Regions from separate parts of the Homo sapiens genome. Here all the other regions are linked to region 1. Evidence: promoter capture Hi-C in 16 types of primary human blood cells and fetal thymus (Javierre and others, 2016). All regions are on one chromosome and are shown on one strand. Each heading gives the region's core, a stretch centred on a gene start or on the middle of the fragment in contact. The rest is flanking DNA. Distances are from core to core; before and after follow the strand shown. Region 1 holds the start of HIF3A (hypoxia inducible factor 3 subunit alpha). Region 2 has its middle 12 kb from the start of IGFL3. Region 3 has its middle 35 kb from the start of IGFL3. Region 4 has its middle 33 kb from the start of IGFL4.

The links. Contacts are between HindIII fragments. The CHiCAGO score rates a contact against its expected background, and 5 or more counts as called.
Region 2: a fragment that was not itself captured here is called in contact with the fragment with the promoter of HIF3A in region 1 in 1 of 17 cell types (M1 macrophages); the score reaches 5.1 in M1 macrophages.
Region 3: a fragment that was not itself captured here is called in contact with the fragment with the promoter of HIF3A in region 1 in 2 of 17 cell types (M1 macrophages and M0 macrophages); the score reaches 5.6 in M1 macrophages.
Region 4: a fragment that was not itself captured here is called in contact with the fragment with the promoter of HIF3A in region 1 in 3 of 17 cell types (M0 macrophages, M1 macrophages and M2 macrophages); the score reaches 6.8 in M0 macrophages.

The regions. Positions count from the first base shown.
Region 1 is chr19:46,295,016-46,298,477 of GRCh38, forward strand. HIF3A (hypoxia inducible factor 3 subunit alpha) reads left to right here and starts at 2,027. Exons shown (of 15, transcript NM_152795.4): 1 at 2,027-2,087. The coding sequence starts at 2,062. The HindIII fragment of the contact is 1,538 bases long and covers 1,313-2,850 here.
Region 2 is chr19:46,111,506-46,114,809 of GRCh38, forward strand. It overlaps a transcript of IGFL2 not described here and the pseudogene LOC100533846. Among named protein-coding and RNA genes, the nearest start is that of IGFL3, 12 kb to the right of the region's middle. The HindIII fragment of the contact is 1,616 bases long and covers 466-2,081 here.
Region 3 is chr19:46,088,268-46,091,675 of GRCh38, forward strand. It overlaps a transcript of IGFL2 not described here. Among named protein-coding and RNA genes, the nearest start is that of IGFL3, 35 kb to the right of the region's middle. The HindIII fragment of the contact is 805 bases long and covers 1,751-2,555 here.
Region 4 is chr19:46,072,211-46,075,581 of GRCh38, forward strand. It overlaps a transcript of IGFL4 not described here. Among named protein-coding and RNA genes, the nearest start is that of IGFL4, 33 kb to the left of the region's middle. The HindIII fragment of the contact is 2,700 bases long and covers 233-2,932 here.

The sequences.
Region 1 (3,462 bases), core at 777-3,276:
TTAGAGACAGAGTCTTACTCTGTCACTCAGGCTGGAGTGCAATGGCATGATCTTGGCTCACTGCAACCTCTGCCTCCTGGGTTCAAGCGATTCTCCTGCCTCAGCCTCCCGAGTAGCTGGGATTACAAGGGTGTGCCACCACACCCGGCTAATTTTTGTATTTTTAGTAGAGATGGGGTTTCACCATGTTGGCCAGGCTGGTCTTGAACTCCTGACCTCAGGTGATCTGCCCGCCTCAGCCTCCCAAAGTGCTGGGATTACAGTCGTGAGCCACCATGGCCGGCCCCCCTTTATAATTCAGACTGCTCCTTTTCTAACATCCCACCTGCCTCTACACTGAGGGTTGAAAGCTGATTTCTCTATCAAGATTCTTTTGGGTGCAAGTATCTAAAATCCATTCAAACGAATCTAAGCACAAAGCAAATAAGGCAATAGTGAATGAAGCAATATTTGACAAAAGCAACAGCAAAAAAAAAAAAAAAAAAAAAAAAAAGCCCATTGTGGGTTTCATTTGAAAAATCCAAGAATTAAACTGGAGTTCAGGTATGGCTGGATCCAGGCACTCAAGTGCTGGTGTCAAAACTGCCTTTCACAATCGTTCATTTCTGCACAATCTCTTTTGCACTGAACCTCATCTCATAAAGCCTCTCCTCTCTTTGTGGCAGTGTGAGCCCCATCTGCTCCATCTGCCCAGCAATTCCAGCAGACATAGAAAATCCTCTTTCCTAATGGTTTCAGCAAATGTCTCAGGGTTGATTCTCATTGGGCTAAATTAGGTAACATGCCTTCCCTGAACCAATCACTGTGGCCAGGGAAGCAGACTCAACTGATTAGCCAGGTTTGGATCCTATGTCCATCCCTGGAGCTGGTGAAGGCAGAGCAGTGGCCAAGCCCTATTCAAATTAAATAGATGAAGAGGACAGAGAAGTGGTTTCCCAAAAGAAAACAGAGTGGGGAACTGGCGTGAGCCGGGGAGCCGTGTGGATTCCTGGAGGAAGAGTGTGCTAAGCTGTGGGAACAGCAAGTGCAAAGGCCCTAAGGTGAGCAACTTGCCTGGCAAGTTCAAGGTTCAACAAGGCCACTTCTGCTGTAGTATCCTCTTCCCTGCCAACCAAATCCAGAATAGTGGTCCAACACACACACACACACACACACACACACACACTCTGTTCCTTATCCAACTGTAATGCTTTCACCCTTGCTTGGTACCTTTGTACTTCTCCCTTCATAGTCGACTAGTTAAAAAAAAATACATTTCTCGGCTCTTTTTTGAAGTAGGTGTGATTGAGTTAAAACATATTTACTTGACATAAGCTTAATTATTCATCAATGGGAACCTGAAAAGGGAGTCAGAGAGGCCAAGAGGTTAGGGTGGAGTAGAGGGGGTAGGGAAGGTAAGCTGGGGTGCAGAGGGTGCAGACTGGAGGAATGGGGGCGAAGTGGGGTATGGGACTGGGGTGGCAGGGAGGGGCTGGGGAGAGAGAGAGAAGGGTAGGTGCCAGAGGGCCAAGGATTGTGGAACTGGGGTGGGGTTGGGAGTTGGGGGGTGGGGAGGAGATGTGGGGTACTCTGTGAATACCTTAGAAGGGATAGAGAAGGCAGGGCTAGGGGTTTGGAAGGGGTGGGATTGGAGGTCAGAGGGGCTCAACTGGGGTTAGGAAATGGAAAGGTGAGAAGAGGTGGGGGTTAGAGGCTGGGGACTGGGGTCCAGAGAGCAGAGTGAACTGAGTGGGTTCAGAAGAGTACTGGCGTTGGCACTTCAGAGGCTGGACTAGAGAAGGCGCGTTCAGCCGACGGTGCGGGATACACTGCCGAGGAAGTCCGCGGCGAGGGGCGTGGTTGGGGGGTGTGTATTACACGGTATCCCCCCCTTGCCTTTCCAAGTCTTTCCCTCTGGTTCCGCCTCCTTTTCAGGAGTGACATACCGTTGCCCAATCAGAGCCTCAGGCCTGGCGTGGCACAGCCAACCGCGCGGCGTGGGGAGGAGCTGGGGAGGGGGCTCGCAAGGCCGGGGAGGGGGCTAGGGGCCTCCGAGGGCTCCGGAGCGGCGACTGGCGAGCCATGGCGCTGGGGCTGCAGCGCGCAAGGTACTGAAGTTCGGGGGCAGGAGTTCTGGGAATTGGGGGGCTCTCCTCCTGGAGACCCCTGAGCTGGATTGTTGGGGGGGGTGGGGTTCGCGGGTGCGAGCCAAGAACGCCCCGGGGCGCGCAGTTGGAGGCACATCCCCACCGCACTCTCCACCCTTAGGGACTGCAGGGGTGGGGGATTCCCTACGTCTCTGGCTGCCCCGCCCCTCTGGCCAAGAGCGGCTTCGGGGTTCCCGATTTCTCGCTACCCAAGGCTCATTTACCCTCCTGGTTGGGGGTGGAACTTGGGATTCCTGATAAATTAGGGGTGATTGCATTTGAGCAGTCCCCAGGCTTCTGCGGGAGATATTCGCCCTCCACATATTGATCCCTCTGGCCTCTGAACCCCCCAAAATTGAGGGTATTCTTTGCCACCAGGTGCCTGGGATCCTAGGTGATATGGGATACCCCTAAATGGAGCCTTCCCACATATAGGGAGTCCCTTGGAATGGCATTCAGCTCCTGAGTTCAAGAGAGGAGAGATCTCCTCTAATAGTATGCTTCCTGACACAGTCTCCTAAACATTGGGTTTCCCTAGAAATGGGCAGAGGGGAGCCCCTTTCAGAAGCCGTCTGGGACCCTTCCCAAGAGACTTTTTGTATCCTTTCAAAAGCCAGAGTCACCCCCTTAAATAACAGGGAAACAAGCTGGACCCACTTCCCAAAGTCCAGCCCCTCATCTCACCCCTGCACCCCCATCCTGAGAGACAGGGGAGCCTCATCCAAGCTTTATTTTGGGGAGACTCCATGGCAGGGTGCTGTGAGCCTGCAGGCTGTGATGGGAACGCCCCCTGCCGCAGTACTCAGATGGGGTCATCCCGGGCAGAGGGTGGGTTTCTGGGTTCACTTGCCCAGCAGGTGCAGCTCTGCTGGAACACAGGGGAACCTGTGCCCTGGGGCCGCTGCCGGGGGGTTTTATCTGGCCATGTTCCCATGGGACCCTGGAAAATGTTCTAGGTCCTCAGCTTTCCCTGTCCAATGTGAGGCACCCAGTAAGCCTCACCCCCTTCCCTCCTCCCTGGCTTCTCAGGCCTGATTGGATCCATGCACACCCCATGTTTCTAACCGCCCCCATCCTCTCCCCTGTCCCCTACTCTATTCCAGGCCCTGGCTCTGGGCCTAACAAGGAACTCTATCCCACCCCTTTTGGGCCAGCTGTCGTTCCGCCCCTCTCAGCGCCCCCTCCTGGCTGGGTGGGGGCCCCTCTTGGCTGAGCTCGGGTGCCCCCCCTCCCCACCCAAGGCCGGCCCTTTCCTGTGGAGTCATCTCACCGCCGTGCGCACCCACTCGTAACTCGCACCCGGGTCCTGGCTGCACCGCATCCCCTCCTGCACCCC
Region 2 (3,304 bases), core at 24-2,523, 180 kb before region 1:
TAAGCCACCCACACCGCTCTGTGAGCATAATGGATATGATCACACCCACATTGCCAAGTGTGTCTGCCAAAACATATGGAAATACATCTTTCTTCTAGCACTCATGCCTCATTAATGGCTGTAACTGTTTCACAGTCATGGTGTCCACGTATATGATACTAATGGCTATGATTAGATGAGTCACATCTTCATTGAGTAGCTCAATAGGTATTGTTATGGGCATAGATACCAATCAGGTTTACTACCAGCCCCGTAGCTGAGACTGGTGTTAATATGTGTATCTAGTCCTAGAGGATCAATTGAACCACTGACTAACACAAAAACAAGTTTTGCCATTAGAAAAATCTATTAATAGAAACCCAAACCTCACCATTATGAAGTATATCCATGTAACAACCTGTAAATGTACACCCCGAGTCTGTACAAATAAAAAAGATTACATTATGATGAAATGGTGAAACAGAAAGCTTTGTTACATGGAACTTTTCCTGTTGCATTCAAAACTGCTTCATTAAATAGTCCTGCAGAATAGACTCTACGACTTTCAAAGCTAGGAGAAATTGGAGTGACCAGTTTATTCCTTTTATGAAGAATTATCCCTGAGATGCCGAACATCTGTGTGTCAGAAGCTCCCAGCTAACTTTCAAAAGGCAGTTTAATTTCCAATAATAGTAATTCAACAAAACTGAGAGTTTAAATTAGGCAATTTAACTAATAGGCAAGTATTCTTTGTTGTGCTTCACATTTATTTTGGAGGTCCAAGATCTGCAATTATGACAAAAACCACCACCACCACCTGAGGGTACATTCTGTTTGGCCTTAAATAATTATAGTGGCCCCCACCCCATGTCAGAAATTGGTTTCAGAGTGGACTAGTGACCCTGTTTTTCCAATGAGAAAGGAAAAAAGCTGTGGGGCTTCTAGGAAGGTCCCTCCTTCCTAAGAAAAAGACTGAGAATCTCTTTGGATCTCTGGACATTGCTGTGTTTGGATGTGATACCAGAACTGTTCCATCCATGTGCCAGGAGCCTGGAGGCGAAACCAGTACAGTCAGGACCACAAAGCATAGATGAACACAAGCTGGGACCTTGAGGACATGGATGAGTGGCTGAATCAAACAGCCCTAAAACTTGTTTGACCTTAGAACTTTCAAATATGTTAGAGAATAGATTTTCTAATAGCTTAAGCCTGCAGAGGAGGAGTGGGAGTAGACAGCTTGTCGCTGTGATGGCTGCCAGTGGCTGAAAGTGATTTGGAAGAATCATCACATTCTGGATGTAATGTAATGTTTTGGTTTGGTTTTTACAAATCTGCTATCAAATTGATGATGTGGCTCATACTTGGTAATGGTGTCAAGGAAATACAGTACATTAGAGCTGCTGCTCAGAGTGGAAAGGTGCATGTTAGGAAAGAGGTCAATTCCTTCAAAACACTTGTAAGTTTGTTTTAATACCAATTGAAATACAAATGGAATTTTCTTGGAGAAAAGAAAAAGTCTATTAATAAATTGAGAGAGAATTTCTATTTGGGTGCACCCATAGGAGAAAAATCCCATTGCATTCCATCTTTTCATCAGGGCAGCAATAAATATCATGACTAAAACACATCTGTCATAGAGTGTGTGAAATACATCTGAGATGAGACCCAGACTGCTGGTCAACACATCATAGAATGATTCTACAGAGGCAAAAAGCGTTCCGTCCTCTCTTAGAGGGAGATGAAAAGACGTTGGTAGACAAAATGAAGACCTAGTACTCACTATCACTCCTCCAGACAGGATGTGTTCTGCACTTTCCTGGTATGCCATTTTGTTCATAGCCTGAAGTCAGACTGTTGTTGGATGTATTCAGAAATTTCCAAAGCACTAATAAAAACAGGAAAGGATCAATCATGGGGACATTTGGAAACTTCCATTTTGACTGAACAAATGGAATCCACGTAGATATCCAGGATTACGACAAAGAAGATAAGCATTGTGGAAGCCATAAAGGGAGAAATCCAAGATTTATCTTTAACCTCAGTTGTCACAGGAAAGACAATGACCCATGGGCACAAGAGAAGCAGGAAATAAGATGGGATAAAGCTTGAAGACTTTTGGCTCCACTGATGTCTATAGAGAGCTTTCTGGGAGCTGTATGAAAACCAGCTTTACACCACAAAGCCAAGACTAGCAATAATATTCCATGCTTGTTATCTGCCATGTCTAAGAAGGCAATGGTTGTGTAAAGCATGTAAGTTAGAGCCCTGAACTACCCTAATTAAATGGGGTGTTCAGCCGTTTTAGCCTTGAGATCATCACTGTCAAAAAACAGCAATAAATAGATGACAGCAATAATGAAGAAAGCAGTCCCCTGTATTGAAGTTCTGCTCTGTGTTACAAAAAGAGCTTGGTTTATGGCTGTATTTCTTAGAGATGAGAGACAAAATATACAGACAATGGCCAGACCACATATAAAAACAGAACTCTGACCCATAACCTACAGCAGCCTGCCTAGGAAATCAACCCACTTTTCTACAATAAACAGCCCAGGAAGCCACTTGCTGTAAGTCACACTTGTAGGAAGTCAGACTTTCTCTGGTAACAATCCAGGAAACTAAACAGTAACTCCAGTAACAGTCAGCTCCAAATGGCCAGGACTTTATTAATAACTGACAACTTCCCAAATTTTTGTTCCTGTTTCTAACTTAGGAGCAACGTAGGAAAGCCAAATACGTACCCTAAACCAATCCCATAGGATGCTGTGCATCTAGTTAGCTATCCTCAGCTTCCCCATGCCAACAGCCTCCAATCAGGGAACATGCGAAAAAAAGGGTGATACCTTTTCCACTATAAAGCTTTCCTACTCCTCTGCTGGTCTTTGAGTCTCTCCCAAAATGGAAGTGATGGTGGCTGACTTCTTTGTTGTAGAATAGATAGCCTTTACTTTCTTATTTGGTTAGTCTTTGTTTTCACAGAAGTTATTGGCGAACTCCATTTATTAAAGTCATGGGTGCTGATATGGTTTGGCTCTGTGTCCCCACCCAAATCTTACCTTGAATTACCCCACATGTTAGGGAGGGACATGGTGGGAGGTGATTGGATCATGGGGGCAGTTTCCCTCATTCTTTTCTCGTGATAGTGAGTGAGTTCTCCTGAGATCTGATGGTTAAAAAGTGTGGCACTTTCTCCTTCTCTCTCTCCTGCCACCATGTAAGATACGCCTTGGTTCCCCTTTGCCTTCTGCCATGATTTTAAATTTCCAGAGACCTTCCCAGCCAAGCGGAACTGTGAGCCAATTAAACCACTTTTCTTTATAAATTACCC
Region 3 (3,408 bases), core at 903-3,402, 210 kb before region 1:
AGTCAGCTGTGTTAAAGTCTTTCCTTTATTCTGTGTCTTTTGATTGGATAATTTGATCCATTTACATTGTTTATTATTTAAGATAAGGGCTTTTTTTCTGTACTAACTAATGAACCCATATGTTTAATTGTCAGACTTTATTCAGCACCACTGAGTCTCAATATCAAAACAACTAAAATTTAAGACACAACCTTCAATTGTAACATATATATTTACACTTCGTGTTCATTATATTGTTGAATGGTGCCATCATTCATCTACTTGGCTAACTGCTAACCAGAAATTAAAACTCTTCCATTCAGCTTCTTGTCATTGATTTACAAAGATTTATTGAACACTTTCTATATATTAAGAGCTTAATTGTGCACTAGAAATATAAAAATAACAAGATAATATCTGTTCTGGAGTTGAGGCATTTGGGTGACAATAAATGAAGTTACAAAACAATGTGAGAAGAGGCGATGAGAATACAAAGATAAAGACATATCTAGAGCTCTTCTGGAGTGATCATGTCATTTGAGACCTCACAGATGAAGTAATATCATAGCCTACTGTTGTATGTTGATTGGGGTTTGAGAAGATTGAAAAACAAAACAAAACAAGGATGTCCCAGACAGAGGAAATAATCAGCAAAGCTATAAAGGATTGAAATAGGAAAAGGAAGTCATTCTATGAACATGACTGGGTTAAAGGCGCTAATGTAGACTCTGGTAGATCTTAAAAGTTATTTATAGGTAAGGACTTTCTACTGCTATTTTGTTTATTGTTTTATAGATCCTTTGTTTCTTTCTTCCTGTCTTACTGTTCCTTTGTGGTTAAGTGATTCTCTCTAGCAGTATATTTTGATTCCTTACTTTTTATTTTTGTGTTTTTATCTACTATAGGTTTTTGGTTTGTAGTTACCAAAAAAAACTTTATAGTTACAAGAAAACCTTATAGTTATCATATGTTATTTTAAGCTGATAACAACTTTGATAACAAAAAAGCCCACCTCTACACTTTTACTGCTCTGCACCTTGTATTTTGAATTTTGATGTAATCATTTACATCTTTTTATGTCGCATATCTCTTAACAAATTATTGTGATTATTTTTAATAGTTTTTAAACCTTCATGTGAAATACATGTGATTTATACACCACTGTTACAGTATAATTCTAAATTTGACTGTATACTTACTTTTACCAGTGAATTTTGTACTTTCAGATGTTTTTGTGTTACTCATTAGCATTTTTTTCTTTCAGCTTGAAAAACTCCCTTTAGCATTTTTTGTAAGATGGCTCTGGTGGAGGTAAACTCCCCCAGCACTTGTTTGTCTGAGCAAGTCTTATCTCTCCTTCATTTCTGAAGAAGATCCTTTTAGGGTATAGTATTCTTGGTGGTAGGTTTTTTTTTTTCCCTTCTGCACTTTGAACTCTCTCAGGTCTGTAAAGTTTCCGAGAAGTCTGCTGGTGAGCATATTGAAACTCCCTTATATGTTATTTGCTTCTTTTTTCTTGTTGCTTTCAGGATCCTATCTTTGTCTTTGATTTTTGGCAGTTTACTTATAATATGGCTTGGGGTAATCTTATTTGGATTGAATCTGGCTAGAGTCCTTTGACCTTCTTGTACCTGGATATTTACATCTTTCTCCAGGTTTGGAAAACTTTCTGCTATTATTTGTTTAAATAAGCTTTCTACCTCTTGGTCTCCCTCTTTAATTCCAGTGACCCAAACATTTGCTCTTCTGATGCTGTCTCATAAATCCCATAAGCTTTCTTCATTTCTTTTTATTATTTTTTTCTTTTTTCCCCTCTGATGGTACATTTTCAAATAACTTGTCTTCAAGTTCACAGATTCTTTTTTCTACTTGATTAGTTCTGCTGTTTAGACTCTGTATTGCATGTAAAATTTTGTTCATTGTATTTTTCAGCTCTGGGATTTCTGTTTGAGTTTTTTAAAATTATTTCAGTCTTTGCTAAATTTCTTATTCTAGCCACTTACTGTTTTCCTCATTTCTTTGAATTGTTTCTCTGTATTTTCTTTAAGTTTGCTGAGCTTCCTTTAAAAAGTTATTTTGAATTGTTTAGTAAGGAGTTCATATTTATCCATCTCTTTATTGTTAGTCACTGGTGCTTTATTTTGTCTCCCCGCTAATGTCATATTTCTCTGATTGTTCTTGATCTTGTGGCCACACGTCAACATCTGCATATTTTAAGAAGTAGGTACTTATTTCCAGTCTTTGTAAACTGGCTTTGTCTGGGAACGCCCTTCAACAATAAGCCTGTCTAGATAGCCTGGACAGACTGGTGTGATCTCTGTGCCACTGTGGCCATTACAACTCTAGAGGGTGACCTATGCTGGTACGTGATGACAAGCACGTTGCCCGGCTGGAATCTCATGGCTTCTGAGGCTGGCACAGAGCTGGCATATGCCTGAAGCCTGTGGCTGCTGGTGCCTGCCTACTGCCAAGATTTGTCTGTAGCCCAGGGCCCAGGCTAGCAGTGATGCAAACTGTGGATTGAGCTGGCCTTGCAGGGGCTGTGGGTTCCCATCTGGTTCCCGGGCAGCTCTGGAAGCTTAGTCCATAGGTACTGATATGGGTTGAGCGGTTGCAGGGGTCTGCCTAATGCAGGGTTTTACTGTGGAAGATCCAGTATTAGGGTCCAAGGCAAAATTTTGTTTACTTTCCTCTCTTTCCACCAAGCAGACAGTATGTATCTCTCTCTGTGCTATGCTGCCTGGGGTTGAGTGAAGGGTAATTTGGGTGACATAAAATTGTTCTTCCTACTCTCTTCAATGCATCTTTTCTTATTATGCTATAACTAGGTACTGTGATCTCTCACCTGGTTTCCTTAGCTCTTTTGAAGGTATTTTTGTGCATGAATCATTCAAATTGATGTTTCCGTGTGGGCAATGATTACTAGAGAGTCCTAATGCACCATCTTGCTCTGCCCTTCTTCCCAAATGCCTGTAGCCTCATAGAAAAACATTTGTAAGAAGTAGATATCTAGGGAAGGATTCCACTGAGAAGTGGTCCACATTTATGTTTTTAAACAGCACGTTTTAGTGTGAGGAGGCCATTAAGTGGGGATATTTATGAAAGAATATAGGCAAACTGTTACTTAGAATGTCTTCAGTTCTGTAAGGTGCTTGGCATGTAAGGTGCTTGGCCTACATATTTCTTTCAAATTAGTACACAGTCAAAAACTTTAATCAGTATACAAATTATTCTGTTAGAAGAGACACTTGTGTTTTCCATGTTTGTGTTTCTCCTTAGGAGTTGTATTTCTGTTGCTGAGATAACCTATTGTTATATCCTAGTTTATTTATAATATGTTTTGTAAGAAAGACTGATGTCATTCATTGTAGGTGTAAAACAGGCTTACCATGAAATGAAAGCCTTTGTTCAACTTAGAGTCCTAATGTT
Region 4 (3,371 bases), core at 333-2,832, 220 kb before region 1:
ACCTGGATATTTGGACTCTGCCTGGGGACAGTTTCCCAACGGAAGTGCAAGTAGCAAGGATCTGAGTATAGCACAGCAGTTCCGCAGAACTAAGGTTCTGGATGGCTTGATGGAACTGGAATCCCTTAGGTGTGGCATCAGTGAAGAAGTGCGAGCCCCCCAAATCCACGTGGGGTCCACCAAAGTTCCTGGATGAAGACTGGTCTGCACATGCACATTCTAGACCACCCAAAGCTTAGCAGAGAGGTAAGTCTTAAGAAGTATTTGTCTCATTTATACCCATGGGATTTTAATCAATGGAGGTAATGACAGGGAGATGCCAATGCCATTGAAATATGTTTAATGTCACTCACAGTTTCGGTAGAAATTAGAGGCACAGAATGTGAAGCAGGGGCATGTGGGGAAGCCCCAGGTGTGATCAGGAGACAGAGGCAGGAGTGAGCAAAAACCTAGGCCAGAGCCCTTATGATGTGTTCTGTGGGAAAGGCAGAACAGGGCAGGAGATGCAGCTCACAACTGGTCAGTTTGAATAATATTGGCAGGGTGTGAAATATAGTGGCAGCCTCTAGTTGTCTGGTACCTGGCCCTGGGTTGACTTAGGGCAGAGAAAATGTTGGCTTGGTGTGTAAGAGAGATAAAGGAGATGGTTCAGAGCGGGGGCTCTGGATCTCGGGGGAGATGCAGATACCTTTGGCCATGAGTTAAACCCCGTAGTTAATGGATACCAAATAGAGAAATACAGACTCAAGAAAACACAAAGCACTATCCCAGTTGGGAGAGCACAAAGGAGACATTATCAAAAGTAATGTGGGATTCTGGATTGGATCCTGGAGCAGGAAGTGGACAGGAGGGGACTACCAACAAAACTAAAATAAAGCCTGTAGATTCAACATTCATTTCCTACTTTCAATAATTGTATTAGGATCATTTAAGATGTTAACATTAGACGAAGTTGGGTGAAAGATCAAAACTCTGTACTGGCTTTACAACATTCTTGTAAATCTAAAATTATTTCAAAATGGCAGGTTAAAAAGTATTTTAAATGATACCTACAAAATACTATCATGATAGTGATAGTGAACACTCACTAAAGATATGATCAGGATGCCCTAATAGGCCTCCTTATTCTTGTAATTGCAATTAGAGTTCCTTCTTTCCTTAATATTATGTAACTGGAGCTCCCTTGAGCTATTTCTAGCCTGGGGTATAATGTCTGACTCATACACATGTAGTTTCATAGGAAGCCTTGGGGCCCTAGCAGAATAACACTATCACCCACAAGATAACCAGCCAGGTGCTGCACCAGGTCTAGGCCCTCTGTGTGATGGATGCGGTCCCGTAACCAAAGGGAGACAAAGTTACCACACCCTATGTGGCCCAGAAAAATGGCCAGAGACTGAACTGGCACAGTCTCTGCTAACACAAGAGTAACAGCACTCTTCCACCCAGTCCATGCTGCCTGGAACTTCCCTGACAGAGAATCATTCTGGGATCATTCTCGAGAACTTGGCAAATATCTCAACACTCTGACATCACATTCTCTTCTACAGTCAGGATCCTCAATCCTGGATTATAGACTCACAATCTCAACTTCTTTTCTGGACACTGGAAGTCTTTAAAGATAGAATGGTCAGAATGACTGAAAGTATTTTTTTGTAATGAGAAGCCAAATTATTGTAACACATAAAATGATTTTGCTGAAAAACTTGATTGATGGCACATAATTACAAGGCATATTCTTTCCTTTCTTAGTAGCTTAAAAAATCAACATTTCTTTCCTTCTCTAATACATTACTTGGGAATGTCTCAGTGGGGAAGGCTCATTTCTCCTTCGCACAGTGTTAGCTACGATGGCCTGACTGAGCCTGGAGGATTTGCTTCCAGAATGGCTCATTTATGTGCTTGAGAAACTGGTGCTGGGTGTCATTTGGGAGCTCAGTTCAGGGAATTGGCTAGGGGGGTCTTAGTTCCTCTTCATATTAGTGCCTCCACAGGGCTACTTGGGCTTCCTCCCAAGAAATCTGTATTAGTCAGGGTTGTCTAGAGGGACAGAACGAGCAGGAGATATATATATACATATATATATATACACACACACATATATATATCTTATTATTGTGGGACCTTGTGATCGTGTGAGTTAACACTACTTAATAAACTCCCATATATGTATATGTATACTTATTATAATTAATGTATGTATATCTACATATGTATATATGTGTATGTATATATACACATATGGGAGTTTATTAAATAGTATTAACTCACAGGATCACAAGGTCCCACAATAGGCTGTTTGCAAGCTGAGGAGCAAGGAAGCCAGTCCGAGTCCCAAAGCTGAAGAACTTGGAGTCTGATATTTGAGAACTTGGAGTCCGATGTTTGAGGGCAGGAAGCATCCAGCATGAGGGAAAGATGTAGGCTGGGAGGCTGAGACAGTCTAGTCTTTTCACATTTTTCTGTCTGCTTTCTATTCTAGCCAAGCTGGCAGCTGATTAGATGGTGCCCACCCAGATTAACATCGGGTCTGCCTTTCCCAACCCACTGACCCAAATGTTAATCTTCTTTGGCAATACCTTCACAGGCACACCTAGCATCAATACTTTGCATCCTTCAATCCAATCGAGTTGACAGTCAGTATTAACCATTACAGAAGCCAAGCTCCGCATGCAAGTATTCCAAGAAGCTGATGAAAATCATGTCCCTGACATGGAAATCAAGACACTTTCACCACATTCTACTGGTCAAGGAAGTCACAAGGTAAGCCCAGATTGAAGAGGAAGGGATTCAATTCCACCTTTCAATGGGAAGAACAGAAAGAATTTGTGGCTATCTTAAACCTACCACTTAGAGTTTTCAATAGTTTAAAGAATAATTTATTTTTAGAACAGCATTAGATTTACAGAAAAATTAAGAAGCTAGTATAAAAAGCTTCCAAATACCTTGAAACCAGCTTCCCCTATTTTTAGCTTCTTACATTAGTATTTTATTATAATTAATGAAAGGATATTTATACCCCGTTAGTAACTAAAGTCCATAGTTTATCTAGGTTTTCTTCATTTTCACCAGATGTTCTCTTTCTGTTCCAGAATCCTATTCAGGACACATTGCATTTAGTTGTCCTGTCTCTTTAGCCTCCTCTTGACTGTGACAGTTTCTCAGATTTTTCCTTGTTTTTGATGACCTTCACAGTTATGAGCAGTACTGGTAAGGAACTTGCTTATTTTCTGGCACAAGATGCTTCAGATCCTTACCAGGGTCTGAAGGGCACTGGTAAGGTTGTAGAATATCCCTACTGGAATTTGTGTGATTTTTCCCTCTAATGATTAGACTGACATTATTGGTTTTGGGGAGCAAGATAACAGAGG